Regions from separate parts of the Homo sapiens genome. Here all the other regions are linked to region 1. Evidence: promoter capture Hi-C in 16 types of primary human blood cells and fetal thymus (Javierre and others, 2016). All regions are on one chromosome and are shown on one strand. The core of a region is centred on a gene start or on the middle of the fragment in contact, and the rest is flanking DNA. Distances in the headings are between cores, read along the strand shown. Region 1 holds the start of FAM181B (family with sequence similarity 181 member B). Region 2 overlaps DLG2 (discs large MAGUK scaffold protein 2). Region 3 overlaps DLG2 (discs large MAGUK scaffold protein 2). Region 4 overlaps DLG2 (discs large MAGUK scaffold protein 2).

Region 1 (2,955 bases), core at 37-2,536:
CGGGGGCAGGGCGCAGTCTGGAAAGAAGGGGGCGAAAGAGGCCAAATGGCCCCGCCCGTCCTCCCCGCCGGGAGAATCCGCAGCGGCGGGGTACAGGGGGCTCAAGGGCTCGTTCAAGGTCAAGCCGCCGCGGGGGGCAGTCAGGGGGCTCTTTTTGGTCGGGGAGCAGCCCGGGACGCTCCAGGGCTCGGGGTACAGTAGGTTTCCCACCACTGCCGGCGGCGGCTCAAAGAGGCCGGGCTCCAGCTCCGGGGGTCCCCGCAGTACGGAGGCTCCGGCGGGGAACACGTCGAGAGGCTCGGCGGCAAGCAAGACTGCCGCCTCCGTGCCGGCGCCGTAGTCGGGCCCCAGCAGCTCAAAGAACTCCACGGCCTCCGCGCCCTTCTCCAGGTCGCCCAAGCTCACGTCCGGCCCCGACGGGCCACACCCGCCGCCGCCTGCCCGGGACGGCTCCGTGAAGAAGGACGGAGGCAGATTGCGTGCCCGCAGCGGGACCTTCCTGGCCCCTGGGATCGCCGTGGCCCCCGCGGGGCCTGCCACGTCCCCTCCCGCGCCCCCAGTGCCCGCACCTCCTAGCCCGGCCGCCGGCGCAGCCACCTCACCCCCCGCCGGCTCGGCACCCCCGGGGACGTGGCGCAGCGAGTCGAAGAGCGCGGCCAGACTTCGGCTTTGCAAGCTGGCGGCCGCGGCGGCCTGCGACGCCTCCCGCCGGGGGGCAGCCTTGCCGTGGGCCGGGGCCGCGACTGTCGGGGCGCTAGGGGCGGCCAGCGGCCGTTTGGCTGGCGTGTCGGCGGCGCTCGGGGAGGGCGGGCCGGGGGGCGCGGCGCCCATGAGGCCGCTGCAGCGCTTGATCTGCTTCTGCAGGTACTTGCGGTGGTTCACCTTCCGCTTCGACTTGCCCGGCTTGTCCAGCGCCAGCTTGATGTTGCTGGACGCCGAGTCAATGAAGCTGAGTAGATCGCGGGTGGCCTCGCGCACGTCCCCTCCTTCGGCTCCCGACAGCAGCGCACCCGCCGGAGCCCCGGTCTCATCGTCCTCGAAACAGCAGCCCTTGTCCAGGGCTCCGAAGGCGCCCCCTAGCCCGTCCGGGGAGCCCCCGAAGCCGAAGGGCACGAAAGGGTGCGTGCTGAGGAGCGCCGCCTGCACCGCCATCGCCGCGGCTCCCGGGCTGTCCGCAGCGCTGCCCGTGCGCCCCCGCCAGCTCCTGCCCGCCGCCCAGACCCAGCTCCCGCCCCGGCGCGGCGCGCGCGGCGCAGCCTACTAGTTCCGGGCCTGGCTCGCTGCGCTGCCTCCCGGGGGAGCTCATTAGGTCTTGTAAGCAAGGGGCGGAGGGAGGGAGCGCGCGGCGACCGTCCCGGTGGTAGAGGGGAGGGGCTTACTTAGCCTGGCTTGGAGGAGTGGGGGGTCGCTTTAGTTTTCTGAGCTTTCTGAAGCTCAACGCCTTAACTCCTTCGTTTCCCTTTGCCCCGTGGTGTTTCTCTTGACTCCTCTAACCGCAAGGGGTGAGGAAGAGATGGCTGGTCTCAAACTCCAGTTCAGGCCCATGAGGCCGCTGCAGCGCTTGATAGGCTTCTGCAGGTACTTGCGGTGGTGCCTCTCCTGAGGCAAGAAGGCAGGAGTCTAGAGACGTGGGTTTCAGTCCAGCTGTATAACAACACCCACCAGCTTCTGGGCGCTTGCTTCTGCCAGGCGCTGTCCATCTATTATCTCATTTAATCCTTGAACAACAGCCCTGTGAATTACATGTTATCGCCATTCAACAAACGTGGACACTGCACCTCAGGGAGGTTCAGTGAGTTGGCCAAAGTCAGATCTAGCCCATTCTGACTCCAAAGCCATTCCTAAGCCCTTGACAATACTTGCGTCCTCTCTTGCCCTTGCCTTTCTCATCTATTAAGATGGGGAAGGAAAATGAGTATTTCTTAAAGCTCTAGACCTGATCCTAAGATTCTAACCTGAGTTTTCCCAGGATTCTCAAGCCCAGTGCTCTTTCTTCTTGACTGTTTGCCACTTGATTGTTACGAGTAACAATTGGCTAACAGTAAATTGAGGCCAGCAGTGGCCCATCTTTTATTAACACATAGCAGGAGGCAATGGAGAAAGGAGTCGATCTGGCTAAGCCCCCTGTTACTTGAGAACACTGTGTGTGTATAAAACTCTCAGCATGTTAGAATAAAAGATGGATTGGAACCTCTCCCCTACCTGTCATACCATTTAGGTTATCCCTGGAATTTTCATTGCATTTCAGGGATCATCATGAAGTTCACTTAAAACTAATTTCACCTGGGCAATCCTCTTTGGGATAGATAGAGAAAATGAGCAATAAGGTCATTTTCACAAGAGATTCAGAAGAGGCTTGGGTTCTGGTCTTAGCCACCACTCAATAACCTCATGACTTAGGTTGAAATCCTTGCTCTGCTGAGTGCATGGCTTTAGACAAACCAGCGTACTCTCTCTGTTTAGCTTACTCATGTTAAATGCAGGTAAAGTTGCCCTCCCCACAGGGCACTTGTGATATTTAAATGATACATTGTTCCATAGCCTGGATGAGTATTCACCCTTACTTCTCTGAAACACAAAAAGGTGACTATATCCCTTACGTGTCTTCTGGATCATAGGGTGTTCATGAGCATTAAGTGAGATCATAGATGCTTCTCAATTTGTGATAGAGCAACAACATCCTGATAAACACATTGTAAGTTGAAAATATTGTAGGTTAAAATGCATGTAATACACTGATTCAAGTTGGAAAATCATAAAGTTGAACCATCATAAGTTGGGGACTGTCTCTATATGAAAACACTGTGTGTGTGATAAAGTGTTCTCTAAATAAGTTACTCTAGTTTCGATACAGAGCTTGCATAGGAGAGACATAGACCATCTCTTTCAAAACTCTTTTTATTAAGCCTCACTTTGTAGATGTAGCGAAACCATTTTTGAACACCATGAAGGCAC
Region 2 (2,955 bases), core at 155-2,654, 1.1 Mb after region 1:
AGGTCTAAACTTCTACATAGGCATTCAAAGCTTCCTATTATTTGACCTCACCTACCTCTCCACCACTTAACTTCATTGTGCCCCTTTGTATTTCATATTTCAGCCTTACAAAGTTGCCAACCACAGCTTCTCATCCCAGGTTGTTCCTCCTTGTCTTTGCCCAGGCTGTTTGCTGTTTGCTTTGGCTAGAAGGATGCCTGCCTTTTCCTGCTATTCTCATCTATCTAACGAGGTCCTACTTGGCCTTTAAGACTGAGGCCAGGTACAATCTCCTCTCTGCTGTCCCCTCTACCCTCACCTCCAGAAGAACTGACTTTTTTGAAACCACATTGTCCTTTCATTGATCACACCACTATCACTGCCTTTACTGTTCTGAAATAAATTTATTTACCCATCCATCTATGCTGTCAATCTGTATGGTCCTGAAAGACAAAGATAAAGGACTTTTAGGTCCTTGTTTTGTGTAATTTTGGAAGCGGGTACAGGCTGAGCATATAAGAGACATACAAACAAAAATATTGTTTCATGAACGGAAAAAAAAGTGAGTGGTTGGGAAAAATGATACTGAGTTCTAGTTCTGGCTCTCTTGGGATATGTGGGAAGCCAGGATTGTCCTCTACAGGTCGGGTTCCTTGCTTGGGTAATGGAGGGAATAATGTTTGTCTCATGGGGAAGTGTTGAAATTCCGATAAGACAATGAACTAAAGGCATCTAGAAAACTGAGAAGTTTTAAAGAAAATTAAATATTGAGATGCTATTTCCAGTAATTTGGCATATTAGATATTCTGAAAACCCCTTTCATTACAAAGCAGCTAAAAATTCTGAATAAAATAGTTATAAAATACTTTTAAATGCTTGGCTAAGCTTGCAAGTAAGAGAAATCTTCAGAGGATGAAAATGAAGCAGAAATGCAAACTCAGAAGAAAGCAAGTACTGAGAATAGCAGCAGACTGAAGAGTGATGAGCTAGTGTGTTAGTGTCTAGATTTGATGGCTGCATGAATAGGACTGTGTGAGCCCAGTGGTGGGATTAGATCAGAGACACCTGAGCAAAATTAGGACCCTGTGAGGCTACACCCCAAACAAAAGGATAAAGTACAAAAATATTAGCACTTCAACAATATCCAGGATACATATCTATCCTGATTTTGGCTCATAGGGTAAAAAAAAGGGCCTGGGGGCCAGGCGCGGTGGCTCACGCCTGTAGTAATCTCAGTACTTTGGGAGGCCGAGGCGGGTGGATCACTAGAGGCCAGAAGTTCCAGACCAGCCTGGCTAACATGGTGAAACTCCATCTCTATTGAAAAAAAAAAAAAAATTAGCTGGGCATGGTGGTGCATGTCTGTAATCCCAGCTACTTGGGTGGCTGAGGCACGAGAATTGCTTGAACCTGGGAGGCGGAAGTTGCAGTAAGCCAAGATCGCATCACTGCACTTTAGCTTAGGCAACAGAGTGAGAGTCTGTATCAAAAAAAAAAAAAAAAAAAAAAAGGGCCTGGGGAACTAATCAAGGCATGTTTGAATGTCAAATAAGTTACACTTGCAAACAGAATTGATAAAACTGAATAAATTGGGAGAATAAAGGAGGGAGAGTCCACCTGAGTCGTAGAAGAAAGATCTTCGCAATAGATCTCCAGAGCTGTGAGGTCGAGGTGATCTCCAGCTCCAGCTGCAGGTGGCTAACATAAATGTGCTGTCCTGGTGGTAGGGGTAACGTATGAGATGGGCTCATCTGGCCATCCTAGCTCAATGACAGTAGTCATTAGGGTCACTTGGGTGGCTAATTTCCCTCTCAGAGTCCAGGCTCACCAAGCCTCCAGCTCATTAAAAATATAATTTATCCTAGTGTTTTTCCTATTGAGAGCAATGTGCTAGTTATAGCACATTCTGGTATCTTGAGTAGTTACATTTTGCATCATATATTAAAAACATGGTATTACAGCATATAAGCTTGATTACTCCTGGATACACTGACAAAAACTGAGTTCCAGAGACTGTAGATGGAAGGCCCAGATCTAGTATAACGACAACCCAAAAAGGGTCTATTACCCGTGGAAGTCATATGGGAAGTCTACAGCTAGTCTTCCTGAATCCTTTTTCCTTCATTTCTCTATTAAATGCAACTACGTTCACGTGAACAATGTTATTAAAAAGAGGAGATACTTGTAGGAGATCAAAAAGATCTTTTTAGTAGAATGAGAAGACATGTATTAGGAAACTTGTGAAGAGAGGGGCATACCAAAGGTGGTCACATGGAAGACAACAACAGAAGGCTTCAAAGCTGCTGGTTGATTACAACCTTCTTATATCTAAATGAGCTAGCTCCTCAGAAGGATGCAGTATAATGTGTGCCTCATATTTAAATAGTTAATTTGGTCAGTTAGCCAAATAATCAGTCAAACAGATTATTGGGCATCATACAGATACACAAAGATAGAGGGTTTTGTTGAACTGCTATTTGAGGACATGTTATTAAAATAATAGAAAGAAATCTGTCATCATAAGGGGGGATCTATGCATTAAATATACAATATAGAGCAGGCTGACTTCAGCAAAATAATAACCACACTGATACAGAGTTTATACTAAACATACTGTGGTTGGTACTGTGTGGGATAAAACAACCCTACTAGAGGGGGATGGTATGGGATACTGTGATATTGGGAAAGAGTATGGGCATTGGAGCTACATAGATCTAGGCTTGAATCATAATCCTACCAATAAATACTTGAGTAACCTTGGTGTAGTTTCTTGAGGTCTTGCTTTTTTGGCTATAAATTGTGAACAGTAATATCTATTTTCTGGCATTGTGAAGATGAATTGAAATAACATAAAAATACTAGAATCACACAGCAAGTGCTTGGTAAATGCTAACTCATTTCCTTTCCCTCTAGAAAGTTATGACCTTTGAAAGGCAAATAGTCACACATAAAGTAATAAATCAACATTGCAAAGCC
Region 3 (2,955 bases), core at 333-2,832, 1.1 Mb after region 1:
CAACTGCCTTCAGAGAAGTGGGCAAAGATGAGTCATTCATTCATTCATTCATTCATTCATTCGTTCATTAAACATTTGCTCAGTAGCTCCGTTCTAAGTTAATCAACAAGGGAGCAGAGATGAATAAAACACAGTTTCATCCTCAAGGGAAGCTTCAAAGGATCTGAACGTTGCTTCTAAGTGCCTCAATCTTACAGCCTTCGTATACAATGGCTTCCTGTGGTGACTCATATGTCTCCTTTTAAATGCTCTTTTTTTAGGCATTTATGCTTTTTTCATTAACTAGACTTTGAGTATGGACTGCCTCAGACATAAGTAAACTGCCAAATTCAATTCTTTGGTGAAGGCCTGCATCGCAGAAAGAGCATAGCTTTGAAATCAGAAGCAACAGTATTCCAAATACCACCATCATTACTGATTATCTGTGTGATCTTGGACAAATTATTTAATTTCTCTGAGCCTTCAATCCAACAAGGTTGTTAGGACAATTCAGTGAAATCACAGCGCAGTATCCAGCAAAATGCTTTGTGCTGAGCATATATTCAATAAAGGTTAGGCATTTTATCTCCAATTCTCTACTGGTTTTGCTTTCTAGGGGCCCTCTTTGTTGGGAAGTTTCCCCTCCAGAATCCTTCTTACTTCCCCAGGCTGAGCTAAGGATGGTCTCTTCTTTACGCCCATGTGGTCCCTGGAACTTACCGTTAGCATTTCCATGTTATATTGGAAATAATCTATTTATTTGTCTGTCTCCCTTCATGAGGCTACATGTTCACTGAGGACACAATGATTTTTTTCACGTTGCATCCTTAGTGTCTAGTAGCTTTTGGTACTTTGTGAATGTCTCTGAGCTCTGCAAACAAGATTTTAAGGTGAAAATTTACTTCCGTCAAATAAAATACTTGCAAGAGGTTTTCTGGAGATTATGACAGAATTTTCAAAAAATATGTTTCACTTGATAGTAATTTATATCCAAAGACTAAAAAAGTTATTTTGTTAAATAATGTTAAAAAACACTTTATCAGCATTTAAAAAATTTGCTGCAGGACTTCTCAGATCTTTCATTGAATTATGAACCTTTTTTATGAAGCATTTCACACATCCGCTATTATACACAGTTTTGGAAGTACCACTGCGAGAAAAGCTGGTGTTTTACTGGTGCACTGAGTTAAGTTTCAGACTTTTGAAAGCTGCTTACAGTTAAATCCTTTGAGTAGTGATATTGTGAGTCAGGTGTTACAAGTCTGATGTTAAGTACATGGTTCCCAATGTACTATTTTCACTGCACCTTGCTAAGTTGTGACATATAGTATGTTTATGACACATTGAATAAGCAAGACTTAAGGAATATAACTGGAAAGGAGCAATGTTAATTTTGTTTCCCTACACAGTTTGCTGAGTGCCCACAGATTTTATTGTTTTTCTTTTTGTTGTTGTTGTTTTTGTTTTTTATATATACACATATATATACACACATATATATACACATATATATAGACATATATATACACATATATATATACACACACACACACACACACATATATATATATATATATATTTTTTTTTTTTTTTTTTTTTTTTTTTGAGATGGAATTTCACTCTTGTTGCCCAGGCTGGAATGCAATGGCATGATCTTGGCTCACCGCAACCTCCGCCTCCCAGGTTCAAGCGATTCTCCTGCCTCAGCATCCTGAGTAGCTGGGATTATAGGCATGCACCACCACGTCCGGCTAATTTTGTATTTTTAGTAGAGATGGGGTTTCTCCATGTTGGTCAGGCTGATCTCAAACTCCCCACCTCAGGTGAACTGCCCAACTCAGCCTCCCAGAGTGCTGAGATTACAGGTGTGAGCCACTGTGCCCGGCCTAATTACTGCTTTTCTTTAACATATATTATACAGCCGGATTCTATGTCAGACAATGGGGATGCTGTTTAAGTGACGCTTGGGGCAATTCATGAGTTCTCTGGTCCCTTTTAGATAATGGAGGGTTTTTCCTTGTCTACTCCAAGTTCCTTTTCGAGGAAATTCAGTGAACAAGATGGAGGTAGGAGGGAGCTCAGCACAGAGGGGACAGGGCTGCTGCTCCGTCCCCACTCAGTGATATGGCTCTTCCTTTTTGTACAACAGTGAAACACACTTGTGTGTGGTTTGTTAGTAAATAACTGCTGTCCTGAGCCCTCCTGAGTGACCCACAACTCTGGCTCCCTAGAAGTCCCCACTGCCCTGCTGTCTGGCATCTGTGGCACTACGGCCATTCATTGTGTGGATGGGTGCCAGGGTTATGCCAAGGTGTGAAAATTTTGAATAGCATCCCTGACCATAGGTAAAGAAAAATCCAGAGTGGCTGAAGCATCAGTGAGAGTAGGGGAAGTATTGTGGATGGGGCAGGCTGTCCAGGCAGGCAGGGGCCAGACTCTGCAAAATTCTGTGGGCTGTGTTAACAATTTTAGGCTTTAAGAACAGCAGGACACCATTGAAAGGCTTTAAAGAGAGCAGGAAAAGGATATGATTAGATAGGCTTTTTGTACAGTTTCCTCTTTCCAAAGGCTGGAAGTCTGTATGTGATGGGTGATGTTTATATGCACTAGGCAATCATCAGGAATAAAGAACTCTGCCCATAGTCAGGCCCTGCTGAATACCCACACTCTGGTGGCTGGGCCAGGAGGTACAGCCTGGCTAGTGGGGCTCTGAAGCCAAGGCTGAGCAAGAGTGACTCCCCTGGAGCCTCTTCACAAGCCATATCTGTTTTCATTTGAGGTGGTCTTGTGATCAGGTGAGCAGTGAGTTCTGAGCTGTGCAGGAAGAAAGATCCAGTAAGGTAGGGAGAAGTCTAAATGGGCTCTACAATTAAGAGAGGCAAAAGCCAGAAATGACTGAAGAGTCAATGTGTCTAGATGCAGTGGGTTAGAGAGAGAGAGCAAATGCCTGGAACAAGCATGCTGGTTTGGAGAGGC
Region 4 (2,955 bases), core at 313-2,812, 1.1 Mb after region 1:
TTCTGTTGTTAAAATGTCCAAGTCAGGAGTCAGCATTGGCATTAATTGTAGAAGGCTCATGTGTGTTAAATGTTTTGCAAACCGTGGCACAATCAGGCATAGTGAAAAAATGTCCTTCCAAAGGTGCAATAACACCTGCAAAAGGAAATACTGAATCAATACCATTTTTCACATAAATGCCCTAATTCCCAGTGAACCTTATTATTTTGTTCAAACAAGTTCAGTTGGCTAAGTTCTGGGTCAAAGTTATTAACTAGGAATTTGTCTAAATAGTATACAGATTTGAAAGCAATAAGGATGTTCATTTCTACATATCCTATAATATTCACTAATTTGGTTTAGTTTACATAAACTAATCTGAGTGAGATTGTAATGTAAGTGAAAAGGGTTCTTGTTTCCTTTTTTCCTCATACACAATTAATCTTGTTCATAAGCTTTGGAATCAATTTTAAAGGAAGGAATAATGCTGCCTCCAGAGACATATCTGTCAAACAGTCCACTCCTAAAACATCTGAAAGGCTTGAGCAGGAATAATATATTAATGGAATTAATCTTGGTCAAAATCTGTTAATGCAAAACTCAAACTCTGGCTGCTGCATGTGGGACTCATCTGATGTTTTTTTCATCGTAGTTCCTCAAGTTGATGACATTCTTTTGTGTTTGGGCTTATGTGTATCTTGGCATCTGGCTGTTGCCCATAATTACATCTTAGTATTTCTTTGACTTATTCCTCATCTAAAAATAAGGTAATCATCTCATTGCCTAAAAGCTCCCAAGAAACAGGTTTTGTGAGTTTAGGCAAACTGTGTCAAGAACTCTTAAGTCCCCTCTTCCCAATTACTTTCATCAAATCTTCCCAATTGCAATCAGTCAAATCTTTTTGGGAAGTCAAAATCTTCCCAACTGCAATCAGTCAAATCAAGAGGAGGAGATCTGAATAAACAGAGATGCATGAAAATCAACTTGTATTCACCACTATGAATGAGAAATAATATTTATTAAACTATTTCTCTTCAAAATATCTGTTGCTTTTGTTTTTTCCTTTCTAATTTACTATGCTAGTTCTAAGCATTGATCTGAACTATTGAAACAGGCCCTGTTTCCTGTTTATTTTGAAAAATTTCAAATTATAGAAAACTTGAAGAACATTATAATAAAAACTCATAAAGATTCAACAGTTCTTAACATTTTGGTACATTTGTTCTCCCTCTCTTCCTCCTTCTCACTCTCTCCACTTACCTACCTATCTGCCTAGCAGAAGACACACACACACACACACACACACACACAGACACACACTTTTTCTGAACCATTTGAATTATGTTGCAGACGTCATTCCACTTTCAATCTAACATATCAGCAAGGCATCTTCCCAGTGTAAAGACATTTTCTGTATAACCACAATGCCATTATTACTCCAGAGAAAGCAAACAAAACTAATATTTCTATAACATTTAATATATTGCACCTATTCAAATTTCCTCCGTTATCCTCCAAATGTCTTTTACAGATTTTTTTCTTAAATCCAGGATTTAAGTTTTATGCATTGCATTTGGTTGTTACTATGTCTTTAGTCATTATTAGTCTTGAACATTACCTACATTTTTCTTTAAATAAAATTTACTCTTTTTTTAAAAATAATTTCAGTCAGATGCTTATAGAGTGTTCTGCATTTTGAATTTGTCTGATTGTTTCTTCAGAATCAGGTGAAACATTTTTAGCAAAATCCAGTGTGTAATGAATGCTGTGTATTTCTTACTGCGTCATAGCAGGAAGCTCAAAATACATGGACCACCAGATCTCTTCATTTAAAAGGCACCTTTCTATTTTGCAAATAACAATCTATAAGGTGGTTTATTTGAGACCATGTAAATATCCTTTTTCCAGTCAACTTTAACCCCTAATTGTTTTAGCATCTATGGATTATGCTTTCTTGAAATAGTTATTTTGTAGCGGGTTAAAAAATGGTTATTTTATAAATTCTTTATTTATTCTAGAATTATTAGCTGGTATTATTTTGTGCAGGAGAGCTTCTCCCATATATATATATAATTTTTCTCTATCATTCTGGATTTATTTTTGATATATCATGACATAATTTTTTATATATCATATTAGAATGTTTTTGATATATAATATTGTTCTTTTTGATATATCATATATTTGGTTTTTTGATATAGCATGATATTATATCTCATTACCATGTGGTAGACTTCTAATTGATGTTAGCTTTTCCTCTAATCTCTGTCTCTCTCCCATCCTCCCTCTCCCTTTTGTCTACTCTCAATACCTTGATAGTCATCTTGTATATCACAACCACTCTACTTTTCTTTAAATACTGCCTTTCACATTTTATACATGCCACAGATGCTCATATTCATCTGTGTTCCTAACTGCTTGTAAATTATGTGCAAATTTCTTAGCCCTATATTTAAGCCCTTTCACAATGCAGCTTTTACCACAACCCTCTCTAGTCTTTTTAAGACCAGATACTTCTCTGATATGAGGGAACGTTAGAGTGGATTCTGTCTAGTCCTCCCATATCATTGGTGGAAAAAGTGAGGCACAGAGAATGAAGTTATTTTCCAAGGTCACTCAGTGTATTTGTAGTAGAGTCCAGATGAGAATGCTAGAGTTCAATGTCCTACATTACACGCCTCCTCTCCTAAGCAAACCCTCTGCTGCTGCTAGAAGCTTCATGTCCATCCCTAGCCTAATGTTATTCCCTTGGGCCTAACTTCCTCCTCCTTGTTTTACTTCCTGTTTTCCTGGATTCTTTGAAGTCTTGGCCTTCTCCCTTGTCCAGGTCAGGTTCTATCTTCCCAGACCTCCTGTAATCATGATGGTCCGTGACACTTACTTGGCCATCAGCCCCACAACCTGGCAGCATTACATGAATTTTGGTCCTTCTTTACTCTTTTATTATTATTTTTCAGGTGAGCAGTAATGCAAGCT

Evidence for each region. The method cuts DNA at HindIII sites, captures the fragments that hold promoters and counts their contacts. A CHiCAGO score of 5 or more calls a contact.
Region 2: a contact is called between a fragment that was not itself captured here and the fragment with the promoter of FAM181B in region 1, in 1 of 17 cell types (naive B cells). The highest score is 5.3, in naive B cells.
Region 3: a fragment that was not itself captured here is called in contact with the fragment with the promoter of FAM181B in region 1 in 8 of 17 cell types (total B cells, naive B cells, M2 macrophages and 5 more); the score reaches 10.7 in total B cells.
Region 4: a contact is called between a fragment that was not itself captured here and the fragment with the promoter of FAM181B in region 1, in 2 of 17 cell types (naive B cells and total B cells). The highest score is 5.7, in naive B cells.

What each region holds. Positions count from the first base shown.
Region 1 is chr11:82,732,578-82,735,532 of GRCh38, forward strand. It overlaps FAM181B (family with sequence similarity 181 member B), which reads right to left and starts at 1,287. Exons shown (of 1, transcript NM_175885.4): 1 at 1-1,287. The coding sequence starts at 1,152. The HindIII fragment of the contact is 9,040 bases long and covers 1-2,955 here.
Region 2 is chr11:83,843,082-83,846,036 of GRCh38, forward strand. The region is part of intron 16 of DLG2 (discs large MAGUK scaffold protein 2); the gene reads right to left. Among named protein-coding and RNA genes, the nearest start is that of DLG2-AS2, 210 kb to the left of the region's middle. The HindIII fragment of the contact is 1,084 bases long and covers 863-1,946 here.
Region 3 is chr11:83,823,615-83,826,569 of GRCh38, forward strand. The region is part of intron 17 of DLG2 (discs large MAGUK scaffold protein 2); the gene reads right to left. Among named protein-coding and RNA genes, the nearest start is that of DLG2-AS2, 190 kb to the left of the region's middle. The HindIII fragment of the contact is 2,865 bases long and covers 151-2,955 here.
Region 4 is chr11:83,803,319-83,806,273 of GRCh38, forward strand. All of the region lies in intron 17 of DLG2 (discs large MAGUK scaffold protein 2), which reads right to left. Among named protein-coding and RNA genes, the nearest start is that of DLG2-AS2, 170 kb to the left of the region's middle. The HindIII fragment of the contact is 2,260 bases long and covers 433-2,692 here.